Linked DNA regions of Homo sapiens: all the other regions are linked to region 2. The links are contacts of gene promoters, found by promoter capture Hi-C in human tissues and cell types (Jung and others, 2019). All regions are on one chromosome and are shown on one strand. The core of a region is centred on a gene start or on the middle of the fragment in contact, and the rest is flanking DNA. Distances in the headings are between cores, read along the strand shown.

Region 1 (2,831 bases), core at 27-2,526, 50 kb before region 2:
GAGTAGGAAGGAGGCAACTGATACATTTCTGGTTTGCTCAAGTAAAAAAATAGTGATTCCAGGCCCCACGAAAGGGAACACTCAAAGAAGAAGAGCTTTTGGGGAGTGGAAGATGACAAGTAGTATTTTACACATGTTAAGATATAAGTTGCCTGGCCAGGCATGGTGGCTCACTTGGGTTCAAGACCAGCCTGGCTAACATAGTGAAACCCTGACTCTACTAAAAATACAAAAATTCGCTAGGCATGGTGGTGCATGCCTGTAGTCTCAGCTATCTAGGAGGGTGAGGCAGGAGAATGGCTTGAACCCCAGGAGGCAGAGGTTGCAGTGAGCCGAGATCACACCACTGCATTCCAGCTTGGGTGACAAAGCAAGATTTTGTCTCAAAAAAAAAAAAAAAAAAAAAAAAAAAGATTTGAGATGCCTTCAAGACAGCCACATAAAAACGTCAAGAAGACACATGGAGAGGCCTTGAGTTGTGAGGACAAACCTGAATGGAGATACAGATCTGGGAGGCAACACAGCTTACAGATCAGCAATTAAAACCAGAAGCATAAACGGCACTCCTTAGGAAGGGAATACAGGAGAAGAAAAGGAAGAGTCTTATGAGACCAAAATTCCTATGGGAGAGATGCTAAGTAAAAAAAAAAAAAAGAGCTGGCAAGGGAGACCTAAACCAGAGGTCTCTTCTATAGGTATTTTCAAAGAATGCTCTCAGAATACTTTCAAACTCTTCTGTGTTCCCATTTTCTAACTCTTTATTTCCTGCTTTTATCTTTATTAGTTTATTTTCCTGATTTCTCACGCTTATTGCTTGTTTTTGAAATTTCTGGACTCAAGTAGTCCATTATTTTCCCTCTTTCTTGTCTAAAATAAAAGGCTTTAGTCTATTATTTTCCCTCTGAATTCAGTTTTTGACATATTCAGAAAGTTTAACTGTAAATGATCACCATTAAGGTATAAATAACCTATATTTACAGTTTTTGCTTCCTTTTAAACCCAAGATATGTAGTAGTTCGCTTTTTAAAAAGAATTCCAATTTCGACAACTACTTTCTATTAATTTCTAGTTCTGTTTCATTGGAGTAGAAAATGTAGGTGCTTTGGGCAATTTTATTTTGATTTTCTTCACAGTGATATTTAGTCAATTTTTGTAAATGCCCCACAGGCATTTAACAAGAAAGTATTCTGTCATACAAAGTCCCAAATACTGCTATCAAATTGATGTTGCCAATTATTTCATTCAGATCCTTCAGAACTTATTTATTTTTTGGCACTTTGGTTTGTTAAAGATAGTAGTTTGTTAAACTCATCATAATGCTTTTCTATTTTCTAATATTTCCAATTTTTTTACTATACATAGTTTGATATAATTTTACTCTGTGAATGATCTTCACTGTGATTCATAAAATCACCTTTTTCTGTTCCTCTTAGTGCTTTCTTACTCTGATCCATATCTCATCTGATAATAATACAATGCCAAGTTTCTTTTTGTTTGAGTTGATCTGATGTTATCTTTGCCTTCTTTTATTTTTTCTAATGTCATTAATGTTGTTAGATCTTTTGTTTGGACTTTGATTTCTGACCAATCTTAGTATTCTTGTCTTTAAATGGGTAGTTTAATCAAATTACATTTCCTATTATAATGAATTTGCTATTACTTACATCACTTTATACATGTACTTTCTGATTTAAGCTTCCTTGACAGTTGCTTTGTTTTCCTTCTTTTGCTCTATGAACTGTTTTACTTGCTCCATCTTCTCCAATGTTGCAGAAGATACACGACTGGTTTTAAATTTTACTAATAGTTGCCATTATTTTTTTTTTTTTTTTTGAGATGGAGTCTTGCTCTGTTGCCCAGGCTAGAGTGCAGTGGCGCAATCTCGGCTCACTGCAAGCTCCGCCTCCTGCCTCAGCCTCCTGAATAGCTGGGACTACAGGCACCTGCCACCACGCCCGGCTCATTTTTTTTTTTTTTTTTTTTTTAGCAGAGATGGGGTTTCACCATGTTAGCCAGGATGGTCTCGATCTCCTGACCTCATGATCCACCCGCCTCAGCCTCCCAAAGTGCTGGGATTATAGGTGTGAGCCACCGCGCCCAGCCATAGTTGCCATTAAATTTTTAAAACCATTATTTAACCTTTTTTACTCAATTTGTCAGAGTGAAGAATAAAATAAAAACCAATATAAGCTTTAGCATTTAAGCATACCTTTAAATTATTTTCCCTTCTCTACCTCTTCTTTATCTTCATTAACATCACCTAGGGCAAGCCTATCCAACCCTCTGCCCACAGGCCTCATGCTGCCCAGGACAGCTTTGAATGCGGCCCAGGAGAAATTTGTAAACTTTCTTAAAACATTATGAGATTTTTTTGTGTGCGATTTTTTTTTTAAGCTCATCAGCTAATGTTAGTGTATTTTATGTGTGGCCCAAGATAATTCTTTCTTCCACTGTGGCCCAGGGAAACCAAAAGATTGGACACCTAGGGGTTTAGATGAAGATTGATTTTTTGTTTTTTTAGTAAGTACATTGAGATTTATAACAATTACGACACATCTCTATTTTAACTGTTTCAGAACCCTGCTTATCCCAAGTCCACTTAATAATTTCCCTATTCTTGACTTCTTAATTTTGCTTTATATCTCCATTGCTTTGCTATCTATAAGTAGTTTTGCCAAGGATAAAAGGGTGCCATTTTTTAAGCCCTTGTTTAAAAACAAAAATAAACAAATAAACCTTATCAGAAAATAAACTATTTTGATCGCATTTTTTAAAACTCTAAACCCAGAAAAATTTTAAGAGTTTGGAAATTACCAGGAAGAACTGACTGG
Region 2 (2,700 bases), core at 14-2,513:
GCTGGAGAACTACCACCCTAGACTTATTTGGCCCTTAAGCTATCTCCAGCCTTGGAGAAACTCTACTTTAAGGTTTCATTTCATGGATAAGCAAGGAGCATGGTAGAGTGAATGAAAAAAAAAAAAAAAGCCCTAAGTTTTGACTTCTTGGTCTGGTTTCTGTGCAGGGCAGCTGAAGAGAAAAACAAAAGCTTCCCCTTTACAACCCTCTCGAGCTCAGTCCAATCCCTAAAGCAGGAACGACACCAGCATTAAGGGGTCAGGGGCAGGGACCAGCCATTTCTGGGCCTATGAGATGCAGAAATCCATGATAAATGCTTGTGAGTTAAAAGTTGTGTACTTCCTCCTGCATTGATCATTTTCAAGAAGGAAGTTACACTCAGTCATTTCTCCTTTGGTAAACAGGATCGGGTGTCAGGACAAGGTGTCAGTTCAAAAAACCTATGCTGAGTTCTGTGCAATCTCTGTCTACCTATGTTGTCTACAACTGCAGTTCCTTACAGATTTCTGAAGCCTTGCCTTCTGGTCTTCGGGGGCCCTCTAGTCTCTGCCTGTGGCCTTGTTTACCTGAGATATTGTTCTCCTCTCTCAGAAACAGGACTCTGATCACATTGGCAGCAGTGAGCAGTAATTTGGGGTTGCACATCTGCAGCAGTAAGAGAGTATAATTCGCCTTGGTCCACTGGGTGCTGTTCGCAAACCAGTACAAGATCTCTTTCATCTTCTGTTCTACTGTTTTATCCAACATTTGGTTCAAGGAGGACTTCACAACTTTCCCCTCTTTCTTGCTGAGGTTGATCCGGGACCTGTTATAGATGAAATCCTTTCCCTGTGTGGTCTGAAGGATATTTTGGAAATAGTGTAACAAATATAAGCTATTTAACTGCTTCAGAATGCCAACTAGAAACCTCCTCTGTGATATGTCATTGATCCTGCAGAACCACTCTTTGGTAGAGAAGATCTTCCAGGCTAAGACACACGTCTCACACTTCCGGCATAGAGGGATGGAATCGGTTCCCTTCTCACAACGAAAATAGGGGGCATTCTTGAGCCTTGATTCCAGGTTTTCCATGATCCTAAGATAACCAGTCCATTTTAGCCCTGCGCACTTGCAACGGCAACGCCACCAAACACTAGAGGAACGGGGGGAATGAATAAATACCCCAGTTGTGCCTTTTCTATTACAAACGTCTCCCAGAGCAAAAGTAAATGGCTGCCATGGATGGAAAGCCTATCTCTCTCAGTAACTGCCAGCAGAAGTCTGGCTTTTTGTACAGACCTCCTTGGAAACATGGCTTTACCGTAAATCTCCTAAACCTGGCACTGCTTTATGTGGAGGCAGTTGCTGTATATTCTGAAAGAGCTGGTCATCTCATTTCTAGAACAACAAGAATACTGTTAGTCAAATTTAAGTAATATGTGGACTATTACTGGTATTGCACTTTAATTATTGTTGTTATATATGGCTTCTGAATATTCATGAATATAAAATAAGATGCAAACTTCTTATGTTTATATCTGTTCAGTTACAAACTGGCTATCCCAATGATGCTAAATATGTTTATATTCATTTTCTTAAGTCATCATCAAAGTAAAACCAGAAATGTTTAATGTAAATTTAAGTTATTTAACTGCTTCACAATACTAACCAGAAATCTCACTGTAGTCAAAGGGCCCAGGCAAAACATATTGGGCAGCTCACAGAAAGAGTTTCAAAGTCATGCTGAGATAATTCTCCTACTGCAGGTAAGACTCGGTTCAAACATTGACTCTGGTACTTAGGAGCTATATGGTCTCGAGCAGGCAACCTGTCCTCTCTGAGCCTCAGTGTCTCCATCCTAGTTATGAGGATGGAGAAGATAAAGGTGGGTAATAAAAATGATAACTACCTTCTAGGATTGCATTAAATATATGAGATCAGTTGTTGCTGCTATTGTTACTGTTACTAAGTATTATTACCCTAGATAAAATCAAAAGGTTTGCAATATTGTGTGCCTTTCTAATGCCCATGTTGAAAGACCAGGCACAACCAGAGAAAGGTAATGGAGTCCATCGCTGGGGTTTTGTTGGCAATGGCAGTCACATACTAGGGTCAGAATGGGGAATAAGAATCAGGTTAAGAATGAGATCAGTTCTCACAGCTCAACCTCTTCTGTCTGAAGAGGAATCTGGAGAAAAGGCATGAGTAGATTAATATTTAATTAATCGGGAAGGCCAGACAAAGGAGGGTGGCAAAGAGAAGGGAGGCCCGAAGCAGACTCTTTGGATCTGTAAGGCGAGCACGTTACCCTAAGAAGTGCTGCAAGCTAAAAGTAGCTCTTTTTTTTTTTTCGTAATTAACTTGTTTATTTATAATTGACAGATTATAAATAGCTTGTTTTTAAAGATTTAAATAAATTAGGATTTTAATCTATGAGGCTGACATTCTTCAAGGAAGCATTTTTTTTTTTTGGAGGCAGAGTCTCGCTCTATCCCCCAGGCTGGAGGGCAGTGGTGGCATCTCGGCTCACTGCAACCTCTGCTTCCCGGGTTAAAGTGATTCTCCTGCCTCAGCCTCCCGAGTAGCTGGGATTACAGGCATGGGCCACCATGCCCAGCTGAGTTTTATATTTTTAGTAGAGACGAGGTTTTGCCACGTTGGCCAGGCTGGTCTTAAACTCCTGACCTCAAGTGATCCGCCCGCCTCAGCCTCCCAAAGTG
Region 3 (2,774 bases), core at 86-2,585, 35 kb after region 2:
ACTAAAGAATCCAGATTACCTACCAAAAAGAGATCAAAATATCAGAACATTTACTATCTAAAGCCCCAAATCAAACCCCCACCCCAGACTTTACCACAACCAAACAAACACACTGAGCTTTAGCTTAGGTTGTAAAAGGAGAGGAATTATATTCTCCATCATGAAGGGTAAGTGTGGTCTACACTACAGCCCACGAAAGAGAACCCTGTTATAGAAATATCCAAATGCTGGGCGTGGCGGCTCATGCCAGTAATGCCAGCACTTCAGGAAGCTAAGGTGGGCAGACTGCTTGAGCTCAAGAGTTCAAGACCAGTCTGGGCTATATGGCAAAACACCATCTACAAAAAATACAAACAAATTTGCCAGGTGTGGTGACGCTTGCCTGTGGTCCCAGCTACTCAGGAGGCTGAGGTGGGAGGATCAAGGATCCTGAGAGTTCAAGGCTGCAGTGAGCTGTGATGGCGTCACTGCACTCCAGCCCAGGCAATAGAGCAAAACCCTGTCTCAAACAAACAAACAAACAAACAAATCTGAGAGGAGAGCACAAGCATAGACCATACTACTAACAGTACAGTCAGAGTAAAAACTGAAACAAAACAAAAAAGGCTCTGTAAGTCCCAGAGTCATAACATTTCTAGAACTGTTCTGATTTCAAATATTTCATCACTATAATGTCCTCAAAATTTTAATATTTCTGGATCCAAATTATATTTAGGCTACAAGAGAATTATACCAATTCACTACAGTACAATCCACGAATTCATGCAATCCACCCATTAGAGGACAGACCTTTTGTTCAAGGACATCTGTCTTCAGTCTTTTGTTCTAAAATAAATTACCAAAGATGAGGACTCTGAAGGAACAACAATGGTTTCTACCAATCCAAAGCCAACTGGCTCCAGGAACTATGTTTGGAAATGACCTTGTTACCAATTGTTAACAAACATTACTTTAAGAAGTCCTATTCTAATGACAGACACTCTTATAGACGACCCTCCCCACCCCTTTTCAATTTCTTAAAGTTACGAAGGATTTTGGGCATTTCAAAAATTATTTCCAGATATCACCATTTATTCAGAGTGGTCTGTCTCACCGCTAATTTTCAGAACAAAAATCCTTTCTTCTCTAACTTCAGTTGTGCCTTCTGTAATTCAAGCCCTATTGAATTTCAAGCTGTACTAACACCGACTTCTTTAAACAGAAGAGAAGGATAGGAAAGCAGGTGAGAAGAGAGAGTTCAGAATAGCCCTTTTAGTGAGAAAAATAGAAAGCAGGGAAATCTCAGGTTCTGGCTAGTACACTGGGAATGATATGGGAAAGTCAAGGGACTCCAATCCTATACAATTGGATTACTCTCAGGTAACTGAAATGCATCTAAAACAGGAAGAAAAAAAAAAGGCAGGGAAAATAATTCATGGAAACCAAAAAAGTGACTCTAACATCAATTTAAGCTTAGGAAGATTTGAAAGAAAAAAAAAAGTTTGCATGTAAGTGTTGAGTCACAGCAACCAAAAAATAATGCCTGGCTTTATTAGGTACACATAAAATTTCTTAGAGCCATATACAGGAATTTTCATCAGGCAGCCTCAAGTAACTTAATCTGGTGATAGTCTGATACAAATTCATATGACCTTTTTTTTTTAATGTTTTCTAAAAGTGTTGACTCAATCTTCCCTAACTCTTCTGTTGGGATTGCATAATAGTTACTATGTAAGGCTGACAGTTTCCAAGGTAAATGGTTCTTACTTTCTGAGAACTGTTATAATTTCAGGCTTAAGGAAAGGGAAAAAAAAGAAAATTCTAAGAAAGTGGAGATGGAAAAAGCAAAATAGATTCCTCATCAACGGAAGACACAATAGTCCGGGCGCAGTGGCTCACGCCTGTAATCCCAGCACTTTGGGAGGCTGAGACGGGCGGATCATGAGGTCAAGAGATTGAGACCATCCTGGCCAACATGGTGAAACCCTGTCTCTACAAAAAATACAAAAATTAGCCGGGCGTGGTGACGGGCACCTGTAGTCCCAGCTACTTGGGAGGCTGAGGCAGGAGAATCACTTGAACCTGGGAGGCGGAGGTCACAGTGAGCTGAGATCATGCCATTGCACTCCAGCCTGGTGACAGAGCAAGACTCTGTCTCAAAAAAAAAAAAAAGACACAATAACATTAAAGAGCTATTTTGAGATAAGTGAAAAAAGATTTCTGAAAAGGTAGATGTAACAGAGTTTGGCCCCATTTTTGATGTCTGGCCATTGACAGCATTTAAGTTTCCACCATTTTCTATTCTCCCCTCCTCCACACTGCCCCACCGCACACCTGGTGCTTTAGATAAAGAAATCCATGGGCATCTCCTGAGCTCCCAGCACTGGCAGGAAGCTTGAATCCCTCAAGCCCACAGATCGAATGCTCTCCAGCCCCACTCCCTAGCTACTTTAAAGGCCCAGCCTCCTCTCTGTTCTTGCCATTTTGGACCAGCTTTCATCTATCTTGCTCTCCCCAGAAACCCTGTGTATGAATAGTAAACTTTCAAGTTCTCTTAGTGTGTGAAATGTCATCAGTCTTGACATCTGGCCTATTAACTGGGTCCCTCATCTCCCGGGGGGTGATCACAAAACAGTGGGATGAGGTAAAGCGAACAAAAGCTGCCCACAGGAGGGTATGAGCTGGGGGCAGGAATGACTACAGATTAAGGCAAAGTTTTATAGGAAGGTGGTATTAGGATATGTAATTAGCTATGAGCTTCTTTATTTTGTTTGGACATGGCACTATTTCCATCA

What was found. Contacts are between HindIII fragments. The study calls those that stand out against the background at their distance.
Region 1: a fragment that was not itself captured here is called in contact with the fragment with the promoter of FBXW10 in region 2 in 2 of the 25 tissues and cell types used here (mesenchymal stem cells and mesendoderm cells).
Region 3: a fragment that was not itself captured here is called in contact with the fragment with the promoter of FBXW10 in region 2 in 3 of the 25 tissues and cell types used here (bladder, mesenchymal stem cells and neural progenitor cells).

The regions. Positions count from the first base shown.
Region 1 is chr17:18,792,598-18,795,428 of GRCh38, reverse strand. All of the region lies in intron 3 of TVP23B (trans-golgi network vesicle protein 23 homolog B), which reads right to left. Among named protein-coding and RNA genes, the nearest start is that of TVP23B, 13 kb to the right of the region's middle. The HindIII fragment of the contact is 3,545 bases long and covers 1-2,831 here.
Region 2 is chr17:18,742,617-18,745,316 of GRCh38, reverse strand. It overlaps FBXW10 (F-box and WD repeat domain containing 10), which reads right to left and starts at 1,263. Exons shown (of 14, transcript NM_001267585.2): 1 at 568-1,263. The coding sequence starts at 1,072. The HindIII fragment of the contact is 4,270 bases long and covers 1-2,700 here.
Region 3 is chr17:18,707,319-18,710,092 of GRCh38, reverse strand. It overlaps the pseudogene TRIM16L. Among named protein-coding and RNA genes, the nearest start is that of FOXO3B, 26 kb to the right of the region's middle. The HindIII fragment of the contact is 5,027 bases long and covers 1-2,774 here.